Regions from separate parts of the Homo sapiens genome. Here regions 1, 2, 3, 4 and 5 are each linked to region 6. The links are contacts of gene promoters, found by promoter capture Hi-C in blood cells and fetal thymus (Javierre and others, 2016). All regions are on one chromosome and are shown on one strand. The core of a region is centred on a gene start or on the middle of the fragment in contact, and the rest is flanking DNA. Distances in the headings are between cores, read along the strand shown.

Region 1 (4,145 bases), core at 1,146-3,645, 230 kb before region 6:
TTTTGTAGAGATGGGATTTTGCCAAGTTGCCCAGGCTGGTCTCAAACTCCTGAGCTCAAGGAATCCCTCCCTCCCTGCCTCAGCCTCCTAAAGTGCTGGGATTACAGGCATGAGCCACTGTGCCTGGCCAAGAGTGTGAAGTTTCTTTCACTCATCTATAACCCCCCTGCATACGGTGGTAGATGACTTGATGGCTACTTTTTTTAAGAGCTCCGGAAGTCCAACCCAAACAGTACCAATCTATCCTTCCATCCATTCACTTAACACAGTGAGTACCTTTTAAGTTCCTAGTATGTGCCACTTACTCTGCCAGGCACTAGGGATAGGAGAAAAAAAATTAAAAGTCAAAAATGGTGTCTCACAGGTTCGCCATTCATTGAGGAGACACATCTACACAAGGGTCGCAACACAGAGTGTATTATTAGAGTATAGAATATAATAGAAGTGCTTGGGAAACCAAAAGAAGATTCACTCGCATGGGAACATTAGGGAGGGCTTCACAGAGGAGGTGATGTTTGAACTGAGTCCTAAAGGATGTATAGGAATTTTCTAAGCAAGAGTAGAAGGGAGTAGGAAGACAGCATTCCAGGCAAAAGGAACAGATTGGGCAAAGAAACAGTACAGAGTGGCAGAGCTCACTGGGAATGCTGAAGTGGCAGATCATCGGTGAATACAGGAGAGGGGCAGGACTTGAGCTAGGCAGAGCCAAAGAATGCTGAAATACACAGAATTAAACGTGAAGGCTTTTATGCCAGGCAATGGCATCATCAGCTATTCCTGTTCTAGAAAGGGCACTCTGGCTGCAATGTGGAGGAGGGAGTGACTGGAGGAAGGGAGGTAAGTGTGGGCCTTCAAGAATGAACTTAGGCACTAGCAGATGGAAAGGAGGGCGGATCTGACAGCTGAAAGAGCAGCAGAACGGACAGAGCATGAAGACACACTGGATATGAGAGCTGTGAGGGGGGCAGGGATCAAGGATGACTCCCAGGTTTGGGGCTTGGGGAAGGGAGAGAATGGTCCCACTATCTCAGGCTGGGAACTCATGAGAAGAAGGCAGTTTGGGGTAGAGAATGGTAGGTGGGCTGATGAGTTCAGTTTTGCACAGGCTATGTTTGAGATATTGGTGGGGTCCCTGAATGAAGATCCCCAGTCAACTGCAGGAAAGAGAAGGCTGAGATGGAGATGGAGACTTGGGGTCTTTGTCTGCTGGTGGCAATTCAAGCTCTGGGATAGCATGTAGAGTGAGCAGAGGCAAGGACCAGAACCGGGATGGAGTGGGATGGAGGCTGTACTACCAGTGCTGTTTGGTTTGGGCCAGGGGTTAGCAGGGAGGTTAGAACACGGGCAGAGAAGAGATGCTGATGCCCAGATCTGACAGTGGAGTCTAGGACACCAAGGCCAGCCTTCAATCCTGTCTATAAGCAGGTCAAACATTGAAGTCATTCTGGAGAGAGTCCCATTTTATTATCTGCTCAAATATCCCCGTATTTTATTGTGAACATTGCATACTCACACATCTTTTTTCACACCAAAAATGCACCCAAACCCCAAGTTCTATCAATTACAAACTGCTTCGTAAACATTGTTTCTTTAGCAAAAAATGTTTTCCTCCTTTTCTCTCCCCATCTCTATCACAACTTGCTTCCAGACTCCCCAAACAACTCAACCACCATCTCTTTTTACACATTTACATGCTTCCTAGTTTCTATCCTTTAATTTTTGGAACCTGTTTCCCCGGTTGTCTTCTCTTTCTCTTCTGTTAACAAAATCCCACCGAAACCTTGTAGCTAAAGTTTTAAACTTGACAACTCTTTTATCTTGGTACAATTAGACAACTGCTTCCAAAGTCCTCACCTTCAGGAATAAAAGGCCTTGGATCTTGAACCTCCTCCCCTAATACTGAGACTTTCTTGGAGAGGTATAAAACAATGCCTATGAGATGAAGTCTGGCAGGTTTGCCACACACAGCAAGTCTCAGCCCAATCTCAAGCCCCAGTTTCTACATCTGCAAAATGGGATAACACTAAATACCTACGTCTTAGGATTGTGGAGAGAATTAAACAGGATAATGCATTTAGTATGTTTAACGGAATACCTGCCACATAGTAAGTCTCAATAAATAACAGCATTTATCACCATCACTGCTCTTGGTAAGCCCTCCAATCACCAACTATGTGATAATTTTCAAGCAACAGAGCACAGTGCAAATTCAGGGGATGGGACTAGATTACTGCTAAGCTTCCTTCCAGGACTAATATTCTAATCCGTGCCTTCCAGTCTACACCAGGAAAGCATGCCCGGTGGGTGTGGCACAGCCTGGGCCTGGGCGATGTTTGAGTAGCAAGTGCCAACACACAAATGTTGCTGGGAGCGCATGAGAAAGTGATAAATAGCAAAGGGAGAAATGGAAAGATCCTTAGCACAGAGCCAGCCTCTCTTTCCAGAACACCAGAAGAAAGACCTCCTTGTTGCACTTTCTCAACAAATTCCACTGATGAGCTTCATCTAAAAGTTTCAAAATGCAAAAATCAAAACAAAACCCTGGTTGAAGAAAAGCTTCCTCCTTCCTTATGCCCCATTAACACATGAACATTTTATTTTAAACATCGAAGAGTTAACTCCTCAGACAAGCCTTGGCTTTTATTCCCAAGGGCTCCTTTCTGCATCTGTGGACACACAGCTAGCTGTGACCACTTTTTCCGTTACTCCACAAGACTGAACCATAAAAAGGTTCCTACCAGAGGCCCAAGTATCATATAAACAAAGGCATACATCAAAATCTAGTAAATTAGTCAAATTCTTTAGTCTAATGCTCATCTCCAAATCTCTAGATATTAACTCCTCTCCTGTATAAAAAAAAAGATCACTTATATTGCTGAGTTCTCACTATAGGCCAAGAACTCAATGCTTATGATTCTGCAGAAAGTTCTGTTATTATCCTCATTTTATAGACAAGGAAATTGAGGCTGGGCATGGTGGCTCATGTCTGTAATCCCAGCACTTTGGGAGGCTGAGGCGAGCAGATTACCTGAAGTCAGGAGTTCGAGGCCAGCCTAGTCAAAATGGCGAAACCCTGTCTCTACTAAAAACACAAAAATTAGCCAGGCGTGGTGGCAGGTACCTGTAATCCCAGCTACTCGGAAGGCTGAGGCAGGAGAATCACTTGAACCCAGGAGGCGGAGGTTGCAGTGAGCCGAGATCACACCACTGCACTCCAGCCTGGGTAACAGAACAAGAATCTATCTCAAAAAAAAAAAAAAAAAAAAGGAAATTGAAATACATGAAAGTTAAATAGTTCTTGCAAGTTTGCAAATAGCTGCTGGAGACTTGACCCCAGGTAGGGGGGCTCTAGAGTCAGGCTTCCCACCACCATACGATGTAGCCTGTCACCTGCATTTTCATTTCCAATTCCTTCATATTTTCTGTTCCCCAAAAGGCACTGTCCCTACAGTCCAGCCAAGGGAATTAGTTATTGGAGAGTTGAATTCTAGCCAAACTGATAAAAACAATTTTAAAAGTTGACATTTTTCAATGTATTTCATTTATGAAACATTGCATTTGCTATTTAAAGTATTTGCAACTAAATAATGCATCACTTAAATTAATGAAGGGTCCACATTGAAATGTGTCCAATGGAGTAGGCATTTCAATTAGCTCTGTACTTATTCTTTTTTTTGAGACAGTTTCTCTCTGTCACCCAGGCTAGAGTGCAGTGGCATGATCTCGGCTCACTGCAACCTCTGCCTCCCGGGTTCAAGCAATTCTCCTGCCTAAGCCTTCTGAGTGGCTGGGACTACAGGCGTGTGCCATCATGCTCGGCTAATTTTTTGTATTTTTAGTAGAGATGGGGTATCACCATGTTAGCCAGGATGGTCTTGATCTCTGGACCCTGTGATCCGCCCGCCTTGGCCTCCCAAAGTGCTGGGATTACAGGCATGAGCCACTGCGCCCAGCTCTGCGCTTATTCTTTAGTCATCTTAGGTGTTTCCAAGTCCTATTCTCCCCTAGGATTCAGAGATAAGGGAAAAATTTCATATCAGTTTTGATGTTACCTCTGTGAGGCAGCTCTCGGAGGCACCCTGGGGGGTCTCTCGAGGGACATGGTGGGTGTCCCATCCACTTGTGGGGGGCCTGGACTGCGACTT
Region 2 (4,277 bases), core at 1,591-4,090, 160 kb before region 6:
TGGAGGTGGGGGTGTGATGCTTCTTGGCGAAGGGCTTAAAGAAATATGAAACAAGATGGCATTCCAAATTCTGCATAAATATAGGCCAAAATTAAAACTCCTTTAACCCAGGAGTTGCTGGCCTTAGTGGTCCAATATTAAAATCAGGGCTATTAAGGCCAAGACTCTAAAGATATTCTACAGTATTTCCTAGCAGCACAAACGCAATTACTAACAGATTCTGGAAAAGCACATTCAGCTAAGCCACAGAAGACCTGGATTCAAGTCCCATCTCTGCCACTTCCTGGGTAATCTTGATATTTCTAAGCTTCAATTTCCTCTCCTTTAAGATGGATTTATTTATGCCTGCCTGGTTTGTTGCACAGGCTTATTGGAATTAAGTGATCAACATGCAGAAGCCCTTTGAAAACTGAAAAGTGCAAGACAAAGTTAAATCAATTAGTGTTGTTTATCTGTTGACCAAATTTTTCTTCTACTAGACTGTGATTTCTCTGAGAACAGATTTCCTGACATTCATTCATCTTTGTATCCCCAGGGCTTAGAATATAGTGAGAAATCAATAAATACTTCTTGCATGAATGGATGAATCGATGAATGAGATAAGACCAACCACCTAAGTTACTAGCAGGGAAAGCAACACCTCAGGGAGGACCACTGTAAGGCTTTGTGCCTGGAGGCTTTTAGTGTGGAATCTGGAGAGAAACAGGAAACTGTTTAACCCTCTAATTTATGATACCAGCGTGAACCAAGCTTCGCTGAAAATTCTGCATGGTACACTGTGTTAGTCCCAGTCTTCCGAGAAACAAAAGCTAAAATGAGATTAAACATACAAGGTGTTTTGTTTTGTTTTGTTTTTTGAGACGGAGTCTCACTCTGTCGCCCAGGCTGGAATGCAGTTCTGCAATCACGGTTCACTGCAACCTCCACCTCCTGGGTTCAAGCAATTCTCCTGCCACAGCCTCCTGAGTAGATGGGATTACAGGCATGTGTCACCACGCCCAGCTAATTGTTGTATTTTTAGCAGAGATGGGTTTTCACCATGTTGACCAGGCTGGCCTTGAACCCCTGACCTCAGGTGATCTGCCTGCCTCAGCCACCCAAAGCGCTAGGATTACAGGTGTGAGCCACTGCACCCGGCCATATAAGGATTTTGTCAGGGAAAGTGCCTGGGAAGGAAAATGGGGAGGGAGGGTGGGAAAACCTTGTAGCTGTCTGAGCCCAAATGAATAAGAGGGGGAAGGAAGGTTGGGTGGAAGCGTCCTAGACCACTGAGCAGGCTAAGGAAAGTTGTGCAAATCTGTCACGGAGTCTTCAAACAGAAGTTGGCCACTGGCAAATCTTGCGTCTTCCGGAAATGGGCCTAGTATCCCTGCCATGCTCAGTTATTGACTGGGAGCAGCCTGCAGGAAGCAGGGCCTTGGTCGAAAGCTATGATGGATTCAGAGGGTGGCACAGGAGCCCTTGGTCGGTTCTACTCCCAGCAACTGGAGATCTGCCAGGCATATTCTCATGGCCACCACATACATGGCAGTGCTTCAAAGCATGGAGTTTAGGGTCCATGTAAATGAATTGAGTCCCTGCTATTACTGGATGGCTATCTTGGGCAAGTTACTTGATCTCCTAAAGCCTCATTTTCCTTATTTATAAAATAGAGATTATAATTCCTACCTCTCAGGACTGTTATTGTTGAACACTGTGTCTGCCACATAGTAAGTGCTCAATAAAAGGAAGCTGTCATTTCTCTGTTAATATTAATAACAATAATAATAATTTATTATTCACAAAGTACTTCTATTAGCAGTTAGGACCTAAGAACAGCCCCCACTGTTGCATACTCGTATTAGAATTGTATAAGGCCATCATAGGGACGTGGGACATGGCCTAAAACCATAGTTTGGCAGTATCACAATTCAAACAACCAAACCAGTTTGCCTACAAATGAAAGGTCAGAGGGACTTTCCCAGTTTGGCTCTTTCCATGAGGGGTTGCCAGGGTGGGTTGCATTGTGCCAGAATCTACCTACAACCACAACTCCTCTCCTGTCTTCTGTTTGCCGTGGTTCACTGGCAGTGTCCTCAGCCTGTCCCATGCCAGCTGTGAAGCCACATCTGTGTCTGAAAGCAAGCATTCTCAGGAACTTTCACCCCAAGAACAGGATCATCCTCAGGCTCTGAGAGACAAGACTCTGCTATGCTGTATCCATTGTAAGCACCTATCTCAGGACTCTTTGCTTGTCTTTATCTGTGTGACCTTGCTTTTTTTTTTTTTTTTTTGACTTTGGCCAACTGATAGTGGTCATTGCTGGCTACTGCTGGCCGGTGGCCCCTACATCTTACCAGAGTCACAGAGTGTCCCCTTGTTGGGCTGGCTATGACCCGAGGTCATTACAGATTTCATGGCCCCAACTGAGCCAGCTCGGGCCTCTCCCAGCCTTGCTGATCCTCAGGTCTTAGTGACAGAAATGACCAAGAATCCAGACATAAGGAACTCCAGACACATGGAAGCCAGGCTCTTACCTCTTTCACTGTTGCCTTAGAGGCCTTTTTTCCAACTCCCTTTTCCAAGAAGGTCACCAAAAACACACACGGGGATTTTCTGGGGTTTTTTTTTTTTTTTTTTGAAAGAATGACCTTGAGTTATTCCAACTGAAAGAGTCCAAATTAAACTTAAAAACATTGATTTTGTTTAATAATTAACAGCTTACAAAGCTGGTCAAGTTGTATCTTCCAGAATAATCATCTCCATTCCACAGGGACTTCTTTTCTAGGGAGTTTTAAGTTTCCGTATTGAGCTGGAATCTAACCCTTGAGCTGCCGGTGTCAACCTGAGATTGGACAGCATAGGGCACAGACTCAAGGACGGACTGAACCCTCCCAACCAAGCCAAACTAGGCCTTTCCATCTGAGGAAAGAGGGGGTCATGCTGGGGTGGAGGGAAAGCCTCAGGGCAGGAGAACAGGCCGCCCACTCTTCACACAGCCTCCAGCAGGAGCACCGAGCCCATCTCTGAACACGGTTTGTTTTTCTCCACTGGTCCTCCAAGCCAGAGTGAGGAAGGGCTGAGCCCACCTGATGCCAGACATGCCCAGTGTTTGAGAGGGGGAACTGCCATCATCAGGGAGAAACACCGATTCAGCCATCTTCTGCCCCCGTGACACATAAAAGTATTGGCAAACTCAGTAACTAGCCTCAACACAACACCTTCTTTTGCCTCTTGTTTGCATTTATCCTTCCCACCAATTGAAAAACCAATCATGTTTGGTTTCTTTGCAAATCCAAATTCTTTAAGAAATGATACCCTGAAGTAAAACTTGGGCGTTCTCACACTCATATCCCGAGGTCAACTGTTCAAAAACCCACCATTCACCACTTGGCCTTGGGTGAGCCACTTCCCCTGGCAGAGTCCAGTTGTCTTCCTCTGTATTAAGACAGAGTGGAAAATAACTATGTGATTTCTGAGGGTCTGTCCTGCCCCGATGCTCTTTAAGTCCACTGGCCTTGCTAACTACCTCCTCACTAAGCACATACACACACACACACACACACACACACACACACACACACACACACACACAAAAGGCCTTTGACCTTCTGTAAACATTTATCTCCAACAAACACAGTTTGGTCACGTGCAATACAAGATATGAAGTGAGACAACACACTTTCCGGTTTAGAATCACAAGCGTGAGGACAAAACATGGTTTTCACTGTTCATTTAGGTACAGTTATAGAAACCACTGGAAACCTAATCAACATTGGGATCAGGATCAAGAAGAATCTGTCCCAGGGGTTCTCATCACCTCAGAGGGAGGTGAGAGTTTTTGCAAAGGTCTTGCCAGAATGATGAATTAGAATAGAGAAATTGTGTAGCTTTTAGAAGCATAGCCAATATTATATTACAATTTTATTTATTTATTTATTTTTAGAGACAAAGTCTTGCTTGCTCTATTGCCAAAACTGGAGTGTAGTGGTGTGATCATGGCTCACTGCAGCCTCGACCTCCTGGGCTCAAATGATCCTCCTACCTCAGCCTCCCGAGTAGTTAGGACTACAGGCATATGCCACCACATCCAGCTAATTTAAATTAAAAAAAATTGTAGGCTGGGCACAGTGGTTCATGCCTGTAATCCCAGCACTTTGGGAGGCCGAAGTGGGCAGATCATCTGAGGTCAGGAGTTCGAGACCAGCCTGGCCAACATGATGAAACCCCGTCTCTACTAAAAATACAAAAAATTAGCTAGGCGTGGTGGCACACACCTGTAGTTCCAGCTACTAGGG
Region 3 (4,503 bases), core at 1,124-3,623, 190 kb before region 6:
TGTAGACCAGGAACAGCAGATGCCATACATGGGCCTCCGTGCCCCTATTCCATTTTCGTGGCAAACATCACTACCAATCATAGCATTCTTTCTGTCCTTTTCAACACAGCACCCAGGCACTCAATACTGGCCAACTGGGGCCAGTATTTATTACAGGTGCGCTGACTCATGTCTGTAATCCCAGCACTTTGGGAGGCCAAGACAGGAGGATCACCTGACGTCAGGAGTTCAAGACTAGCCTGGCCAACATGGCAAAACCCCATTTCTACTAAAAATACAAAAATTAGCTGGGTGTGGTGGTGGGCGCCTGTGGTCCCAGCCACTTGGGAGGCTGAGGCAGGAGAATTGCTTGAACCCAGGAGACAGAGGTTGCAGTGAGCTGAGATTGCACGACGGCACTCCAGCCTGGGCAACAGAGCGAGACTCCATCTCAAAAAAAGAAAAAGAAAACTAGGCCGGGCACGGTGGCTCACGCCTGTAATCCCAGCACTTTGGGAGGCCGAGGGGGGTGGATCATGAGGTCAGGAGTTTGAGACCAGCCTGGCCAACATGGTAAAACCCCGTCTCTACTAAAAACAAACAACAACAACAACAAAATTAGCCAGGCGTGGTGGCGTGCACCAGTAATCTCAGCTAAAGAGAGGATAGGCAGGAAAACTGCTTGAACCCGGGAGGCAGAGGTTGCAGTGAGCCAAGATTGTGCCACTGCACTCTAGTCTGGGTGACAGAGCAAGACTCCGTCTCAGAAAAAATAAATAAATAAATAAAATAATACAAAAATTAAAAAAAATTATAAAAGAAAAAAATACTGGCCAACTGGCCTTGGCATGTGAAATTATTTTTAAAATGCTCTTTTCCATACCTAATTAGGCACTAAGTCCTGGTAGTAGCACATATTATCTTTGTAATAACACTTTTTTAAAAGGTACCTGGTTACCTGGAGTTAATGAGTGATAAAACCCTCTCAGGCTCTAAATATGACAACCCCACATGTACACATAACCCGGGCATACAGTGAACTACACAGAAAACTCTGTTAAGTGAAGGGAGTCTGTTTCTAGACAAAGAGCATTTTGGGAGGGAAATCAGAACAAATCCCTGCATTCCTGGATGCTCAGGGCTTGTACTTCAGATCCCAAGCACTTAAACTTCATGACTTGCAAATTAAAAATAAACCAACATGTACTGAAACCTGCCGGTCTGAGGAGAAAGTGCAAAGTTCTTTCATTTCAGCAAAGAAAAACAACAACAATGATAAGGAGACTCTGGGGCCACAGCCTCCTTCTGGAAAAGCCAGCTATAGAGTCACACTGCACTGTACTTGAGGAGTCAGCCAGAAAGAACCCACTCCTGGAATGCAAGAAGCTTGAACAGTGAGAGAACACCCAGGCAGGCACTTAATTAAAGAATGAATCAACAGCAATAGTGAATTCTCAAAGACACCCATATGATACTCCTCCTGGGACACAGACCACTTAGCTGCAGTGGAAACTCCATCCAGATTATATGCTGTTAATTTAATAGAAAACCAAGTGAGTATATAACACAGTGAAATGTCAGCTACTGAAAGACTATTCTTCTAGAAAGGCTTTCAAACCCTGAAAGTAGGCCAAAAGAATTTTTTTCTCCAGCAAGAATCTTTTGTGGCCAAAAAGAGAGCCTTAGAGCAAGGAGCATCGTAGCCAAACATTTGAAGAGAACCTGGAACACAATGGGTCAGTTTGCCTCCAGGTAGAATGGTTTGACTGACCATGTCAGTAAGAAAGTCTAGCTTTTCTGTACCCTAAAGAATTAATGGGATGGAAGAAAGAGGGAGAGGAAGATGTGGGAGAGATATACAATCACACACACACACACACACACACACACACACACACACACACACTCTGTGATAGTTATTTTATTTTTTGATTCAGGGTCCCACTCTGTCACCCAGGCTGGAGTGCAGTGGTGCAATCACGGCCCACTGCAGCCTTGATTTCCCAGGCGATCCTCCCACCTGAGCCTCCTTAACTACAGGCATGCACCACCATGCCTGGCTAATTTAAAAAAAATTTTTTAGAAGTGGGTTTTCGCCATGTTGCCCAGGCTGATCTTGAACTACTATACTCAAGCGATCTGCCCACTTTGGCCTCCCAAAGTGCTGAGATTACAGGCATGAGCCACCATGCGTGGCCTATGATGGTCAATTTTGGGTGCCAAATTGACTATATTAGGAAATACCTAGAGTGAGGGTGTTTCCAGAAAAGGAGCATGCGAGTAGAAAAGATCCACCCTCAAGGTAGGCAGGCATCATCTAATCAGCTGAGGGCCCTAATAGAGCAAAAACAGACAAAAGGCAAACTGGTCTCTCCCCAGGGGCTGGCATACACTGCCATACACTCTTCTACTCCTGGTTGGACATCAAACTCCAGGCTCTCCACCCTTTGGACTACAGGACATACACTAGCTGCTCTCCCCTTGGGTTCTCAGGCTTTCGAGCTCAGACTGAGAGTTACACAATCAGCTTCCTGGTTCTGAGGCCTTTGGGCTACGTACTTTGGACTTCTGAGTTGATGCTGGAACGAGTTAAGAGTTTTGGGGCAACTGGAATGGAATGAATGTATTTTGCATGTGAGAAGGACACAAATTTTGGAGGCTAGGAGCAGAGTGCCATGATTTGAATGTGTGCCCCAAAATTTCATGTGTTGGAAACTTAATCCCTCCATCCTCATGAATGGATTAATGTTGCTATCGTGAGAGTGGGTTTGTTATCACAGGAGTAGCTTTGTTGTAATAGCAAGACCTCTCTGGCTCTCCTGCTCTTGCCCTTTTGCCATGTGAATACTTTCCACAATGTTATGATGCACAAGATGCCAGCACCATGCTCTTGGACTTCCCAGCCTCCAGAATTGTGAGCTAAATAAACTTATTTTCTTTACAAATTACCCAGTCCATGGTGTTCTGTTATGGCAACAGAAAACGGACTAAGACACACACACAGACACACACACACACAGACACACACACACACACACACACACACGAATAGCAGTGTAAAATTAGAGGGCTAATGAGTGATGGCTGGCATTGGCAATGAAGAAGGGGCTGCGGATAAATAGTTTAGGAGAAGCTGCAAACAAGTTCTGTGGTTTTCTTATGCAGACAAATGCCTCAGTACAGTACCCCTGGCAAGCACAAAGACCCTCTGCCATGCAGGAGTGAGTCTATGGGATGCATTTGTGGTGCTGTGCAGTGAGTCGCACGCGGTAGCCCACCTGAACACAGTCCCACCTGCATTCTCAAAGCAGTGTCTTTTTCCTCCACAGCACTGTCACAGTTTGTGGTTATATATTCAGTTATGTGGTGTTTTTGTTTAATATTCAGCTCTCTCACTAGAATGTAAGCTTTGAAAGGCAAGTTTCATGCCAGCTTGTTTACTGACTCATCATCACCTGGCACAGCGTGATTTAAACACATGAGAGGTTTGAAAAATATTTTTGAATGAATGAATGAACGAACTAATAAAGGAAAAACAAATGAACACATGAATATGAAGGCATTTGGGCTTTGTGAAGGAATCTGGGCATTTCTCAAGCCGAGAAAAGAGAAAGGCAATTTAGGCAGAAGGAAGAGTCAAATGCAAGGGAACATGAAAGAAAAGGCAGCTTGTAGTGACCAATGGAGTTACTGCCACCCTGAGATGTCTCACACTCGGGGACACCTAACAGATGTCTCAGTACCACCTATCAGGTGGGTGAGGTCTTTACACTGGAATACTGACACACTATTCCACCCACAAAGTCGAGAATTACATCTTATTTTCTGGTAGCTCAAATTCAAGAAATCGCTGAACACCTATTGTGTACAGCACTGGGATAGGCACTGTGGATGATACAAAGCTGTAAGACATGCTTCCTATCGAGGCCAGGAGAGGGTAACCAGAGAAGCACGTATATAACTAGAGCCCAAGGGGATGTGTGTGCAGTGTCCCAAGGTAAGCGTGACCTGCAAGCTGTGCAGGTTCAGAGGGGAGCAAGGTTGCTGCTGTCGATGGGGATTTTATCTTTAAATGTTAAAACATTCAATCCAGTGTGCTTTCACTAAGTCCCTATGTCCCCAACATAGTTCTTGTATTTATGGAGGAGCAAAAAGCAACAGGAAGTCAAGAGGTACACTGAGCTCATCTCCCTGCTCCCCAGTGGGTTCTGTCCTTGCAGGTAAGAACTCATGCTGTGCACCCAGGCCCACGGGCCTTGAAGCATCTCTTGGCTCTACTCGCCAGAATCTTGCCAAAAGGGATGGCAGGAGGATGACAGAGCCTCAGCAGTCACAGGGAGGGAGGCTCCTGAGAGAAAAGGATGCAGATAGGAGAGACAGTATGTTTCATAAGCAAACCAGTAATGTAGTCATTTTGCATACAAATTGTCCTTCAGTTGGTTTCAGACCTACAGGGCTGGGCTGTGAGGTCCTTTACAGTCCCCAAGTGTGCCCCCAGCTCAGATGGAACCCAGCTTGCAGAGA
Region 4 (4,331 bases), core at 1,709-4,208, 210 kb before region 6:
AGGCTGTGAGCAGGAATGTGTGATTTTACCCTGAGTGGGACAGGAGCCCCTGGAAGGCTTTGATCAAGGGCGTGGCATTATCTGACTTTTAAATTTTTTAAACATCATTGGCTACAATGGGTTAACTATAGAGGGGCAAGAGTGAACATGGGGAGATGACTGAGTGACTACTCCCTTAGTCTAGGCAAGAGATGATGTGGCTTGGCTGCAGCAGTGCCATAGGAGATGGTTAGAAATGACCAGATTTAGGATACGCTTTGGAGGCAGAACATCTGTGGACTGCTGATGGCTTGGATGAAGGAATGAGGTGATAGCAACCAGAGACAGAAAAAGAGAAGTGCCAGATGAATGGAAGGGGTGGGAGGTCCCACATATACTTGAATGAGGAAGGAATACCATGGCCTAGAGTGGTCCAGGAAGGTGTTACTGAGAAGGGGCTGCCAGGGCTGGGTCTTGCAGCCCAGTAGTTTTCATACAGGTGAGAAAGAAGAGGCATGGCATGAGCAAGGGGTCCACGGCAGGAGAGAATGTCCCATTTGGACACCAGGGTGTTACCAGCCCAACTAGGTTCATGGGAAGTCAGGCAGCTGATGGCAGCTGGAGAGAGACCGTGGAAGCTGTGCACAAACAGGGCTAGATTTTAACTTGGTTCTTCATGTAATAGGGCTCCATTCAAGATCTGAGTGCCTCTGAAAGCCTTCTCCTGCATGCTCCTCTTGCTATAAGGCTGGCCTCGGTTAATCACAGAGGCCCACTATGCCAGAGGCTCTCTGTGGGAAGATGCATTGTGGGTAAACGCCAACTTCTTGCTCAAGGGTGGTGATGCCACATGGCTGGCACAGGGGTAGGCTTAAGGGGAGCGGGGGCCCAGTCCATAGTGTGCACCACTGGAATTTGTGGCCCTGCTATTGCACCATGGAAGCCCTGCTACACCTGGGGCATGGGCTTCTGAAGCACTGTATGGTGTGGATGCAGATGACGCCATTGCTCACCAGAATCAGAAATAGACACTGGGTAAATGGGATTTTCTCCTTTCTCTGCTTAAAAAACATAAGTCCTCCTAATTGCCAAGGGGAGAGTCAGATGTCTGCAGAGGAAGTATCACCATCCTATTTGAGTGAAAAGGTGGAAGCATGCAGAGTTGAATCCACTTATTCACTTCCGGGCATGTCTTATGTACCAGGTACCAGATTGTTTACAGAATAAATAAGATATAACCATTGTCCAAAAGGCCTTTACAGTCTAGTGGGGGACCCAGATCTGTAAACAGTATGACGAGTGCTGGGCAAGTGGTCTGCCCACTCAGGCCACAGCCAAAAGGAGAGTCAAGGACAACAGATGACAGCAATGTCCCACACAATGCAGCACCCTAGGAAGCCACATACCTGTCTGCTTTCCTGATTTTTGCTTCTCTCTCTGTCTTCGGGTGATGCTGTCTCTTAGCCGTTTAAGATTTTCCTGGAAAAAAATTTGGTTTATTTTTTAAGTGTACAACAGGATGATACCCTCTGGACATGAGAGTTTCTTTCAGATTGTATGCTGTTTGCAGGGTATATCACATTGCAGTCACATTTACAACATGCAAATGAGGCTCAGCGCATTCACAGTCAGCCCCCAGAGAAATCCAAATACTCACAGAATCTGTGCCTGAAGAGAAGACATCTCTTCCACAAGAAAGTGTCTTTCCTCCCCTCTGGTTCTCAGCTCTGTTCTATATGACCCCTCTCATGTATGCCTCTTAGCCCAGCTCACAAATACTCCACAGGTATTCCTGTCTCTGAGACTGTGTTCTCACATCACTCCCCTGACCTTCATGGATGTTGGTTCTTCTCCATGAGTCTGGATCAAGGCCCACTTTCTCCCTGAAGCCTCCCCAGATATGCCAACCATCCAGCACTTGGGCTATGCTGCTCCATCATGTGTGCACACTCTTGTGCCTTGCCTCTTTGAGATACTGTGAGCTCTTCAAGGTCAAGAGACCACGTCGTGTACCTTTCCATAATCCTGCCATCTGGCCCATTGTAGTCATTCAATAAATGTTGAATAGACATGTAAGGGTCAAGATTGTTGCTATTTTAGTCAATTAACAATAACGCCGAAGTTAAGTGCCTGAGCATTCTAGGGAAAATGTCCAGACAATCTGGCTGGAGCAGAAGGTTCATGTTGGGGAGTCACAGGAGGCCAAACTGGAAAGGGGGGTTGGTCTGCAGCTGCAGGCTGAAGAGACTCACCTGTGTCCAGGAGACAGCAGGGAAACACTGAACACTGTGAGCTTGTCATGGATTTAAGGTTCTAGTGAACTAGAGAAGAAGGAACAGAGGCCAGCAGACCTTCCTGGAGACTATGGAGTATGCCAGATGCAGGCAACAGAAGCTGACATGGGGATGTGGCTGGGGGAATGGAGAGACAGGAGCAGATGCAAGAGGACAAATGCCGCAGAGCAGGACCAAGCAGGACACACCGCTGACTGGGTGAGCGGAAGCACGGGAGAAGGCCAAAGAGACTCTGAGGTCTGATCTCCCTCTCCTCTGTGATGAGCACAGAGAGGCTGTTGGGAAAGGAAAGCGGCCTTGAGGGATGGTTTGTTGTTAGACATGCTGTGAGCCTGGGGCACTCAGGGGGACAAAGCCAACTGGGGCTGGAAACATGGAACTGGAGACACAGACTGCACAGAGAAGGAGCTGAAGGAAAGCTTCAATGTCCATTGTGAGAGGGTGACGTGAAGGAGACAGAGGAGTGGACAGAGAGGCAGAGGAAAAGGAAGATGAGGCCTCCACCCAGGAATGTCTCCACACCACCAGCCCCTGAAGGGGAGATGCTCAGGAAGTGGCTAGAGGCTCTCAGGGAACCAAACAATGTGAGCCCCCATGAGCTGGGATTCTGCCGTATTAAATATAAACCCGTCGTCTGCTATGCCCAAGAGTTCTGGACCAGCTCATGGGAAGGGAAGAGGTCTCTTGGATAGAAACACAGAAAGACATGGCACATGTATACCTATGTAAAAAACCTGCACGTTGTGCACATGTACCCTAGAACTTAAAGTATAACAACAACAACGATAACAAAAAAACCATACTTGGAAAGGATTTACCTTTCTGCAACAATGGACTGGTACATACAGGATGATGGTAATGATAAGACACGTAAATTATGTTCCCACTGGAAACCTGCCCTGTCCACCCCTTCTCATTTCCCTTAACCTTATCCTCAAACTACTTTAGCTGAGAAGCTTTCCAGCAGACTGAGTTAGTGGTGGCTTATACCTATTTATATTTGTATTAATTGCTTACAGATTATACCTCATATTAGCAATTACCTTACACTACAAGAAAATGTAAAAAAAAAAAAAAAGAAAAAAAGAAAGAGAGCTAACATTTATTATGTATTTACTACGTACCAGTTATGCTGCTTACAGTAGCTTATATCACCTAGTCCTCCCCTTTCATATGAGGCACAGCAAGGTCAAGGTCATCAAATAGCAGAATAAAGATGTAAATTCAGGCTGCCAGCTCTAGAGCCCTGGCTGTTCTTAACTACTGTGCCACGTGGTTGCACAACTTGGCAAGGAGCAAAAAAACATTGTTTAGCCAGGGCCAGCCTTTTCTCAGCAGGACTGCAGCCTCCCAGGGGCTCCTGAGTGAAAAGCACCCGTGATTCCTGCATTCAGCTCTCCAGAGTGCCCTCCCACCCTTCAGGCCCCAAAAGGGAGGGAGGCAGCTGGCAGAGCAGGTGCCCCTGTCTTAAGGAGCACTAAAAAGGCAGAAGGCATAGTGAAGGGAGCACAGGCTCTGGGGTGAGAAAGGGGAGGTTTGAACCTTGACTGCCTCTTCGCCTCTCTGAGCCTCAGTTTTCTGTAGAACAGGAGGAGTAATACTTATTTCATATGCGTGTATGAGGAGTGAAAGAGATCAGGTCTATTTAACGCTGAGCACAATGCCTAACATAGCACTGTCGGAGGTCAGCAAATGCGGCCTGATGACATGCTTCCCCACTCTTCACCACTAATCCTGTCCCAGAAGACAGGCTCCTATCTCAGCCCTGGACGGGTGCTGCTTACTCCCCGCCTTGACAGCTGGTATGTCAGATAGCGTAAGAACAGAGATTAGAATACACACCACCAGGGTCTATAGCCATAACACCCTGAACGCGCCCAATCCCATCTGATCTCTGAGGGTAAGCAGGGTCGGGCCTGGCTAGTACTTTGAAGGAAGCAGCCTGGGGAGGTGGAGAGAGAAAGCAATAGTTCCAGTCCTGACTCGGCCCCTCACTAGGAAAGATGCCTTGGACGTGTCCCTTAACCTCCTGAGCCCCATTTCCTCCTTTTTAATACA
Region 5 (4,095 bases), core at 768-3,267, 180 kb before region 6:
AAAGAGGAAATGCGACAACAGAGACCATGGAAAAATATTCACCCACACTAGTAATCAAAGAAATGCATATGAAAACAATGGACTACTCTTTAACAAATATCAAAGTAGCTGGGTGCCGTGGCTCACGCCTGTAATCCAGCATTTTGGGAGGCCGAGGCGGGTGGATCATGAGGTCAGGAGATTGAGACCATCCTGGCTAACATGGTGAAACTCCGTCTCTACTAAAAATACAAAAAATTAGTCAGGTGTGGTGGTGGGTGCCTGTAGTCCCAGCTACTTGGGAGGCTGAGGCAGGAGAATGGCGTGAACCTGGGAGGTGGAGCTTGCAGTGAGCTGAGATCATGCCACTGCACTCCAGCCTGGGAGACAGAGCGAGACTCTGTCTCAAAAAAAAAAAATCAAAGTAGCAAACATATTTAAGATGATAATACCTGGCATTGGTGGCATTGGTGACAGCATAGCAAATAAGCAATGAAGCCCTATGTCATCACATTCACAGGGGACTACTTACTGGGAGCCTTCACTGAAATGGTGTACTCATTCTCCACCTTGGCTTCCATCCTTACAGAGGGAGAATCCTCAGGAGAAAACTCTGCTTCTGTCGCCACCCTGTCATCCAGCTTACATCTCACAATAACATAGACAGTGGTTTCTGCCTGAAACGGGAAGCCGGTCATTGTCCCCTCTCCCTCTCAGATCCCCGTAGGGTGTTGGGCCCAAGGGTCTCCCCAGCTCTCTTGCCCTAGCTCTACCTAGTGAGAATCTCTGGGGACAGGGTGGACTCAGTGGTCCAGTGCTGGGCAGTGAACTGTTTGCTACCAGTCCCAACGAGACAAGTCACAAAAACCAAGAGTAAATATTTATAGCAATTGGATGGAGTCATTTTATGTCTGTTGAAGCTGATAATAATAATAACAATAATAATAATAATAAAACTTAGCTGGGCGCGGTGGCTCACGCCTGTAATCTCAACGCTTTGGGAGGCCGAGGTGGGTGGATCACAAGGTAAGGAGTTTGAGACCAGCCTGGCCAACATGGTGAAACCCCGCCTCTACTAAAAATACAAAAATTAGCCAGGAGTGGTGGTGGGTGCCTGTAGTTCCAGTTACTCAAGAGGCTGAGGCAGGAGAATCACTTGAACCCAGGAGGCAGAGGTTGCAGTGAACCAAGATCACACCACTGCACTCCAGCCTGGGCAACAGAGGCAAGGCTCTGTCTCAAAAAAAAAAAAAAACACACACACACACAAAACAAAACAAACAAAAAAAACCTTAAGGCCGATACTTTATACACTTTTTTTTTTTTTTTTTTTTTTTTTGAGACAGAGCTTCACTCTGTCACCCAGGCTGCAGTGCAGTGGTATGACCTCAGCTCACTGCAACCTCCACCTTCCCAGGTTCAAGCGATTCTCATGCCTCAGCCTCCCTAGTAGCTGAGATTACAGACACCTGCCACCACACCCGGCAAATTTTTCTCTGTTTAGTAGAGACAGGGTTTCACCATATTGGCCAGGCTGGTCTCGAACTCCTGACCTCAGGTGATCTGTCTGCCTTGGCCTCCCAAAGTGCTGGGATTACAGGCGTGAACCACCGCGCCTGGCCATTTATATGTCTTTTGATTTCATTTTGCATAGCATTTCTGTTGCATTGTTTTTAATGAAATCATTGGTCCATTTCAGAATTGGACATCTTTTTAGAAGTCCTTCGCCACAGATAGCTTGAGAAGCCCTGCTCTGGACCAGTCCTGCTACTCAAGGCGGAGCCAAGGGAGCAGCAGCATCAGCATCCCCCAGAAGCTTGTTAGAAATGCAGAGTCTCAGGCCCCTCCTGGCCCCACTGAGCCAGAGTCTGCATCATAACAAGATGCCCAGGTGACACCCGTGCACTTTGCAGCCTGAGAGAAGCCCTCCTGGGCTCTGCTCTTCATGCAGTCCTGGATTTTACCACTGGGCAAAAAGAACTTCTCGGGGGATTAATTTTCCCAAACCATCGAGCGCCTCGAATAGCTCTTTTAGCTTGCTTTAAGATCTCACACTAAGCCTGCCAAATGGACTGACTCTGCTGTGCTGGTTACGTGGGGGGAATGAGCCTCTCAGTCTGAACTGGTGAGGGCAGGCTCTCCAAAAAACATGGGGAAAGGAGAGATTCCTGGCCATAGCGAATCCCCAGATATTCCTCCTAAGACTCTGCTATAAAGTCCTCAGATTAGCCCTTCATGACAAGGGCCATGAGAGGGTGTGGCAAGCTTGGACTTTATGACACGTGATGTGGGGGGTGATCCTGGCTCCTGGGGCTGCTGAGGCTGCACACACATGTGCTGTGGTGGTCGTCCCTCCTGCTGCAGGCCCAGCCTTGTCCCACCTACACCTTCTGCCAGGGAGCATGAGGAGCCAATGAGAATGTGTGTCTCCTCTACTGACAGTCAGGACCAAACCCCGGCCTGCCCCTTCCCCTCTCCCCAGGATCCAGAAGCCTGAAATCGGCAACAAGAATCCTGGGATAACAGGCAGTCAAGATAGGAGAAGGAATGAGAGCCTGGAAAAATCACAGAGGAGAGTGAAGGAGATAATGCTTTGGTGGCAACCCCCTTTACCCATGGGCACCCAACAGCCTGACCAGAGGGGCATGGGGAAAGCAGAAAGTGGCATGGGAAGATTTAAAATGGAAATGTCCACAAAGGCATGGCCAGTAAGGCAAAGGAGTGAGATAGGCCTTGTATAAAGAACAGGGACTGTGGGGACCCGCCAACTGGGGGATGCATGGCCCATGTACAGGGTTGCTTGGCCCCCGCCAGTCATCTCAGGCCTAATATGACCAGATTCTGATTCAAAGGAAGCTGGAAACACAGATTTTTATGCCTAACTTTTTAAAATAAAATAGAAAAATAAAGATGGGAGTCTCACCATGTTGCCCAGGCTGGTCTCAAACTCCTGAGCTCAAGGGATCCACCCGCCTCGGCCTCCCAAAGTCTTGGGATTACAGGTGTAAGCCATTGTGCCCAGCCAATGCCTAACTTTTAAAATACTATGCAGTCTAGACCAGGCATGGTGACACATGTCTGTAATCCCATCATTTTGTGGGGCTGAGGTGAATGGATCACTTGAGGCCAGGAGTTTGAGGCCAACCTGGCCAACATGGAGAAACCTCGTCTCTACTAAAAATACAAAAAAAATTAGCCAGGCATGGTGGTGTGTGCCTGTAATCCCAGCTACTTGGGAGGCTGAGGCACAAGAATTGCTTGAATCTGGGAGGCAGAGGTTGCAGCGAGCTGAGATCTCACCACTACACTCCAGCCTGGATGAGAGAGACAGACTCTGTCTCAAAAAATAAATAAATAAACACTGTGCAGTCCAAACCAAACATGTCTGATATGGTTTGGCTATGTCCCCACCCAAATCTCATCTTGAATTGTAACTCCCACAATTCCCAGTGAGAGGAACCTGGTGGGAGGTGATTGAATTATGGGGGGGCGGGTCTTTCCTGTGCTGTTCTCATGATAGTGAATAAGTTTCATGAGCTCTGATGGTTTTAAAAAGAGGAGTTCCCCTGCACAAGTTATCTCTCTCTTTGCCTGCTGCCATCCATGTAAGACATGCCTTTCCTCCTCCTTGCCTTCTGCTATGATTGTGAGGCCCCCTTAGCCATGTAGAACAGTAAGTCCAATTAAATCTCTTTCTTTTGTAAATTTCCCAGTCTCAGGTATGTCTTTATCAGTAGCGTGAAAACAGACTAATACAATGACTATCAGTTAAATCTGGCCCAAAGAAACAGTTGGCAACCCCACGTAGGAAGTGCTTGCCCAATGCCTCACGGCCTCAGCCTGCACAAAACCACCCACAAGGGTGAGGAAGCCAGTGCTGCCCACTGCCAAGGCTCCCACGCTGTCTCGCCTCAAGGAGCCTGCAAAGCCATCTTAGCAAAGAGCTTGTATCCATAAAGGAAGCATTCTGCTGCTCTGAACTATCATAAATGCCACACGTTTTTAATTAGGAAAGGAAAAATAAAGAAAAACCATCAGTACTAAGGTAGGATTCAAATGGCAGTGGCTCATCAGTTGGGCCCTCACACTCAAGTCATCTGTAATGTATGCCCCACC
Region 6 (4,288 bases), core at 1,273-3,772:
TGCAGTGGCACGATCTCGGCTCACTGCCACCTCCACTTCCTGGGTTCAACGGATTCTCCTGCCTCAGCCTCTTGAGTAGCTGGGATTACAGGTGCCCACCACCATGCCTAGCTAATTTTTGTATTTTTAGTGGAGACGGGGTTTCACCATGTTGGCCAGGCTGGTCTTGAACTCCTGACCTCAAGTGATCTGCCCACTTCAGCCTCCCAAAGTGCAGAGATTACAGGCGTGAGCCACCGCGCCAAGCCAACTTTCTACTTGTAAGACAATTTAGAGGGGTTTAGAGTCACAGAGATCTTAGTTAGAATTTGGTAGCTATGTGATCTTGACAAATGTATTTAACTCATCTGAGTCTTGTGTCCCTAACTTGGAAAATGTGGTAAATATATACTCATAGCATTATTATCTGGATGGAATGAAACAATGATAAACATATAATAGGTGCTCAATGAATATTAGCTGTTACTATTGCCTCCCTATCCTTTCTTCCAAATAGGTCTTTGTGATAGGTCAACCATGAGTTAGTTCCCAACTCAAAATAAGTGAAGCAGAAATTGGAACTCAGAGTAGAGTAGTAAAACTAGCATTAAATTGGAAATTGGGAAACTTGTCTCCTGGCTTTTGTTGCCCTTTCTCTACCCAGCAACTATGTAATCTTGGTCAAATCACCTTACTTGTCTGGGCTTCCAATTTCATATCTTAAGTTACAAAATTGATCTCTGAAGCCTCTAGGATTCTCTGAATCCATATGTCTGGGACTAAGAGATTATGTCGAGGAATTATTACCCTTGGTTTGATTGTTTTTTAAACAAATTAACTTGGGGTGGTTGGAAAACACATTGATTATTTACTCATCTTAGAGTTACACGTTGTTCATTTATTTGAAACTGAAACGTATTTCCTCCAAACACCGTAGAAACTTAAAGGCCGCAAAAGACTCACACCCACCACCTAGCGGCGAAAAAAGGAAGTTTCAGGTGATACAAGATGTCCTGCCATCACACCTGAAGGATGGTTGTCCACAGCCATTTTTTAAAATCTCGTATTAGTCCTCTTCCTTCAACACTCAGGACAGTATTATGTACCCAGAAACTCAATACTTCCTGGCGTCTTCATTTGACAATACTCTTAAGCCAATGAAATCCTGTGGGACGTTTGCGAATTTTATAAAGATCAATGTTTTAAGATTGGCGGGGTGGGCTGGGAGTGGTGGGGGGGAAGGTGCCTTCCTACCCTTGCATTTGCATCTCAAGCCACCCGTACCCGAGGCCCACCCAGTCCATCTGTTCATTGGTAGATACACCATTCCGCCATTCCGCCAGTGGCTGGTGCAGAGAACCAGGACCACCACCTTTGAAAAGACCTAAATCAATACTCCAATGGGATCCTGATGTCAAGTATTTAACGACTTTGCTTTACCTACTACAGTAATTAAAATTAAGTCTTCAAACTTAAATTTAAATTTCTAAAAGCAGGAATGCACTGTCCTTAATCTTAAACACCAAAGGTGGGAGAAAGAGGCCAGAATCCTAGGGTACTAGGCCTACTGGTATAGGGCGATCTCTTCTGCTTTTTTCTTTCCACCCCATTTCTTTTCCCTTTCTCCTTTCGTTTCCCATCTTCTCTCTTCTCGTTCTCTTCGAAGTAACAGTGACAAAATTAAGGTGATTCAATTATTCCAAGAGGCTTGCTCATATAAAATATTTCTCTTCAAGCCCTTTCCTGAAATCCCAAATTAAAGCATTTCCAATAGTCTCTGCTTTAAGTATTCCTAGTTAAGTCTACTTTTGGAAATATTAAATATTCTCACTTTGGCACAATATTCCAAAATTCCTTGAGAAGTTCGCCTACGATCAGTCTTGCTAGTAGAAACCTTTTTTTTTTTTTATTTAAAACGCTCGATTTCCACTTTTTACTAGGTTTCCCAATGTTGGCGATGTCTCCCAATGACTTAATAACGTGTATCCACTTCACCTTTGAAAATCTTAGAGGTCAGTGCATCCACCGGCATCCGGGAATTTATTCTTATTTCTGCTTCTTAAACAGGCTCTGGGGAGGAGCAGTTTCGACGGAGAAGTTCATAGCAGCAGTTATTACGGAACTTGCAACAGTTGGTGCCGGGCGATAGGCAGGTTGGAAGTGATAAATGGGGCTGGCGTAAAAAACAAAAAGCCCCGGGGAGGGCGGGGGCAGCCGTGGCCTTGGGGGACAGTGCGAAGGCGGCGCGGGGCCAGCGGGACTGACTTCCGGCTGTGGGAAGGCGCCGTCCCGGGCGGCCAGAGGCGGCGGCAGCCGCGTAGAAGGACGGCGGGATCGCAGCCCGGCGGGCGGCGCGCGGGGCGGGTGAGCGGGCCCAGGCCGCCCCCGGGCCACGCCGGGGCCACGGTGAGGTGAGGCCGGCCCTGCCCCCGCACCGCCCCCGGCAGGAGGCGCGACGCCCGGGCCGCGGGTGCGTGCGCGGCCCCGGGCGACGCGGCTGGGCGTGCGCGGGGCCGCGGCGGAGGCTGGGCCGGGCGGGCGGCAGAAGATGGCGAGGGTGTGTAGGCGGCAGCAATGCTCCGTTGAGAGACGCGGCTTTCGGCAAGAACTGGATTCGTGGCGCCACAAGCTCATTCACTGTGTAGGTGAGACCCTCCGCCGACCGCCGCCGCCCCTCCGGCCGCCCCGCCGCCGGTCGCCCCAGACCAGGGAGGAAGCTGGGGAAGTGGCAATTGCTGCTCCGGCCCGCCCGCCCTCTTTGGCTCGAGCGTCCCCCCTTCCCCCACCCCCCGGAGTGTGAGCGCGCGCGACCTCCAGGCGGGCTCCCCTGCTCGGCCGAGCGCGCGCCGGCCCCTCCCCTCCGCGCGCCTCCCCGGGGCTGGCTCTCGGCGGGAGCGCGGGTTCCTCCCCCTCCCGCTCTCCATCCCCGCCTGCTCGCTCCCCTCCCTCCCCGCTCCCGCCCCTGCTCCCGCTCCAGGCCCGGCGCCCCGGCGCCGCCGCCGGCTTATTGTGGCGACTCGCCTCGCGGCGCTGCCGCTGTACTGGGGGAGGCGCGAGGGGCGCGGGCGTGCTCGGCCCCCACCCGCGCTGTGGCCGCCGCCGTCCTCCTCCTGCGCCACCCCTCCCCCACGCGCGGGGCGCGCCCCCGGGTCTGCGTGCACGCGCGGCGGGCTGCAGGCGGGCGCCCGGCGCTCGGGCGTGTGCGAAGCGTGAGGTGGAGATGGGGGCGGAGGGAGCTGGAGCTGTCACAGTCCCCGGGTGCGCCTGACCGAGCCAAGTGGGGTGTCATGGCCGCGGGGGGCAGCGGCTGCACTTCCTCAGCGGGCGGCGGTGGCCGGGGAGTTAATCCTCGACGCACGGGTCGGTGTGTGCGTATTTGTGTTCGGTGTCGTGCTGCGGGAGGAGGGGGTGGGACCGGGTCCGACCGAGGAGCCCCGGCGGGGGTCGCTCTCGTCCCCTCCCGGGGATTGGCCGGAGCCGCAGCCTCGCCCGAATGCCCCGTCCGCCCCCCGCCTCCCGGACCTTGGGCCGCCCTCGGGTGGCTTTTTCCCTGCGGGCCGGAGGGAGCGCGGACGGGGGCGCCCCGGGAGGGGCCGGGCGGCCGAGCTGCGCCTCTCACACTGTGTGTTTTGTCTGTTTTTCTCTCCCAAGGTCCCGTTTCCCTCTGTGCGGCGGCCGGCGGGACCATAAGGGCTTAACTCATATATTTAACCCCCCTCCAAAAAGTAAGTGGCCCGTGTGGTGTCTCCGCTCCGCCCGCCGCCCCCTAGCCCCAGTCCATCCTTGTGTCTGACTCTCCTGTCCTCCAGCATTGTTACTTCCCCGTCTTTGCTTCGGTGCTGCTGGTGTGTGGGGAGATGCCCTCTCGTCGTCCGCTGTCCCCCACGCCCAGTCCTCGGGGAGGCCCAGAATTCCAGCCCCTTCTCCCCCAGGGGAATATTCTTGGGAACCAGGTCTTTCCCGGCAGAATCTAGGAGAGTCTATCCGTTCGCTTGGGCCCCTCATTCCCTCCTTCCCGACAGGGTTTCGTTGGAAGGAATTATGCAAATCCTGCTTTCTGGTGTCCATTCAGCGGCAATTTCATGCGGTGAGAAGTTCTCTTTGTTGTGCGAGGGGGAGAACAGACACTGATTTAATAGACATATCTGTTGGGGGGAAGGGTGGAGGGGGTGTGGAGAGGCTCAGTTTGGAAGAATTACAGCACTTGGTTAGCTCAGTGTCTTTGTGTTTGAGCCTTCTGGCTTGACAGGAGGGTCTGCCCTTTACAATGTCCCACAAGGGATGTTTTCGATAATAGATTAAAAAGCAA

Evidence for each region. The method cuts DNA at HindIII sites, captures the fragments that hold promoters and counts their contacts. A CHiCAGO score of 5 or more calls a contact.
Region 1: a contact is called between a fragment that was not itself captured here and the fragment with the promoter of LCOR in region 6, in 4 of 17 cell types (total B cells, naive B cells, total CD8 T cells and 1 more). The highest score is 8.1, in total B cells.
Region 2: a contact is called between a fragment that was not itself captured here and the fragment with the promoter of LCOR in region 6, in 4 of 17 cell types (neutrophils, total B cells, naive B cells and 1 more). The highest score is 6.0, in neutrophils.
Region 3: a fragment that was not itself captured here is called in contact with the fragment with the promoter of LCOR in region 6 in 12 of 17 cell types (naive B cells, total B cells, neutrophils and 9 more); the score reaches 22.0 in naive B cells.
Region 4: a contact is called between a fragment that was not itself captured here and the fragment with the promoter of LCOR in region 6, in 2 of 17 cell types (neutrophils and total B cells). The highest score is 6.4, in neutrophils.
Region 5: a fragment that was not itself captured here is called in contact with the fragment with the promoter of LCOR in region 6 in 4 of 17 cell types (naive B cells, neutrophils, total B cells and 1 more); the score reaches 7.6 in naive B cells.

What each region holds. Positions count from the first base shown.
Region 1 is chr10:96,598,228-96,602,372 of GRCh38, forward strand. PIK3AP1 (phosphoinositide-3-kinase adaptor protein 1) reads right to left here. Exons shown (of 17, transcript NM_152309.3): 16 at 4,053-4,145. All of the region lies in intron 2 of LOC105378443 (a long non-coding RNA gene), which reads left to right. Among named protein-coding and RNA genes, the nearest start is that of TM9SF3, 13 kb to the left of the region's middle. The HindIII fragment of the contact is 318 bases long and covers 2,237-2,554 here.
Region 2 is chr10:96,674,054-96,678,330 of GRCh38, forward strand. All of the region lies in intron 2 of PIK3AP1 (phosphoinositide-3-kinase adaptor protein 1), which reads right to left. Among named protein-coding and RNA genes, the nearest start is that of PIK3AP1, 44 kb to the right of the region's middle. The HindIII fragment of the contact is 4,185 bases long and covers 749-4,277 here.
Region 3 is chr10:96,635,473-96,639,975 of GRCh38, forward strand. All of the region lies in intron 8 of PIK3AP1 (phosphoinositide-3-kinase adaptor protein 1), which reads right to left. Among named protein-coding and RNA genes, the nearest start is that of TM9SF3, 51 kb to the left of the region's middle. The HindIII fragment of the contact is 2,021 bases long and covers 1,364-3,384 here.
Region 4 is chr10:96,615,254-96,619,584 of GRCh38, forward strand. PIK3AP1 (phosphoinositide-3-kinase adaptor protein 1) reads right to left here. Exons shown (of 17, transcript NM_152309.3): 13 at 1,386-1,458. It also overlaps the pseudogene RNA5SP324. Among named protein-coding and RNA genes, the nearest start is that of TM9SF3, 30 kb to the left of the region's middle. The HindIII fragment of the contact is 537 bases long and covers 2,691-3,227 here.
Region 5 is chr10:96,652,187-96,656,281 of GRCh38, forward strand. It overlaps PIK3AP1 (phosphoinositide-3-kinase adaptor protein 1), which reads right to left. Exons shown (of 17, transcript NM_152309.3): 4 at 512-656. Among named protein-coding and RNA genes, the nearest start is that of PIK3AP1, 66 kb to the right of the region's middle. The HindIII fragment of the contact is 449 bases long and covers 1,794-2,242 here.
Region 6 is chr10:96,829,776-96,834,063 of GRCh38, forward strand. It overlaps LCOR (ligand dependent nuclear receptor corepressor), which reads left to right and starts at 2,523. Exons shown (of 8, transcript NM_001346516.2): 1 at 2,523-2,624; 2 at 3,631-3,704. It overlaps LOC102723665 (a long non-coding RNA gene), which reads right to left and starts at 2,683. Exons shown (of 1, transcript NR_135921.1): 1 at 857-2,683. RefSeq lists a cis regulatory region at 871-1,070, silencers at 2,106-2,405, 2,426-2,475, 2,486-3,205, 3,246-3,305, 3,346-3,585 and enhancers at 2,332-3,046, 3,047-3,762, 3,763-4,288. The HindIII fragment of the contact is 14,888 bases long and covers 1-4,288 here.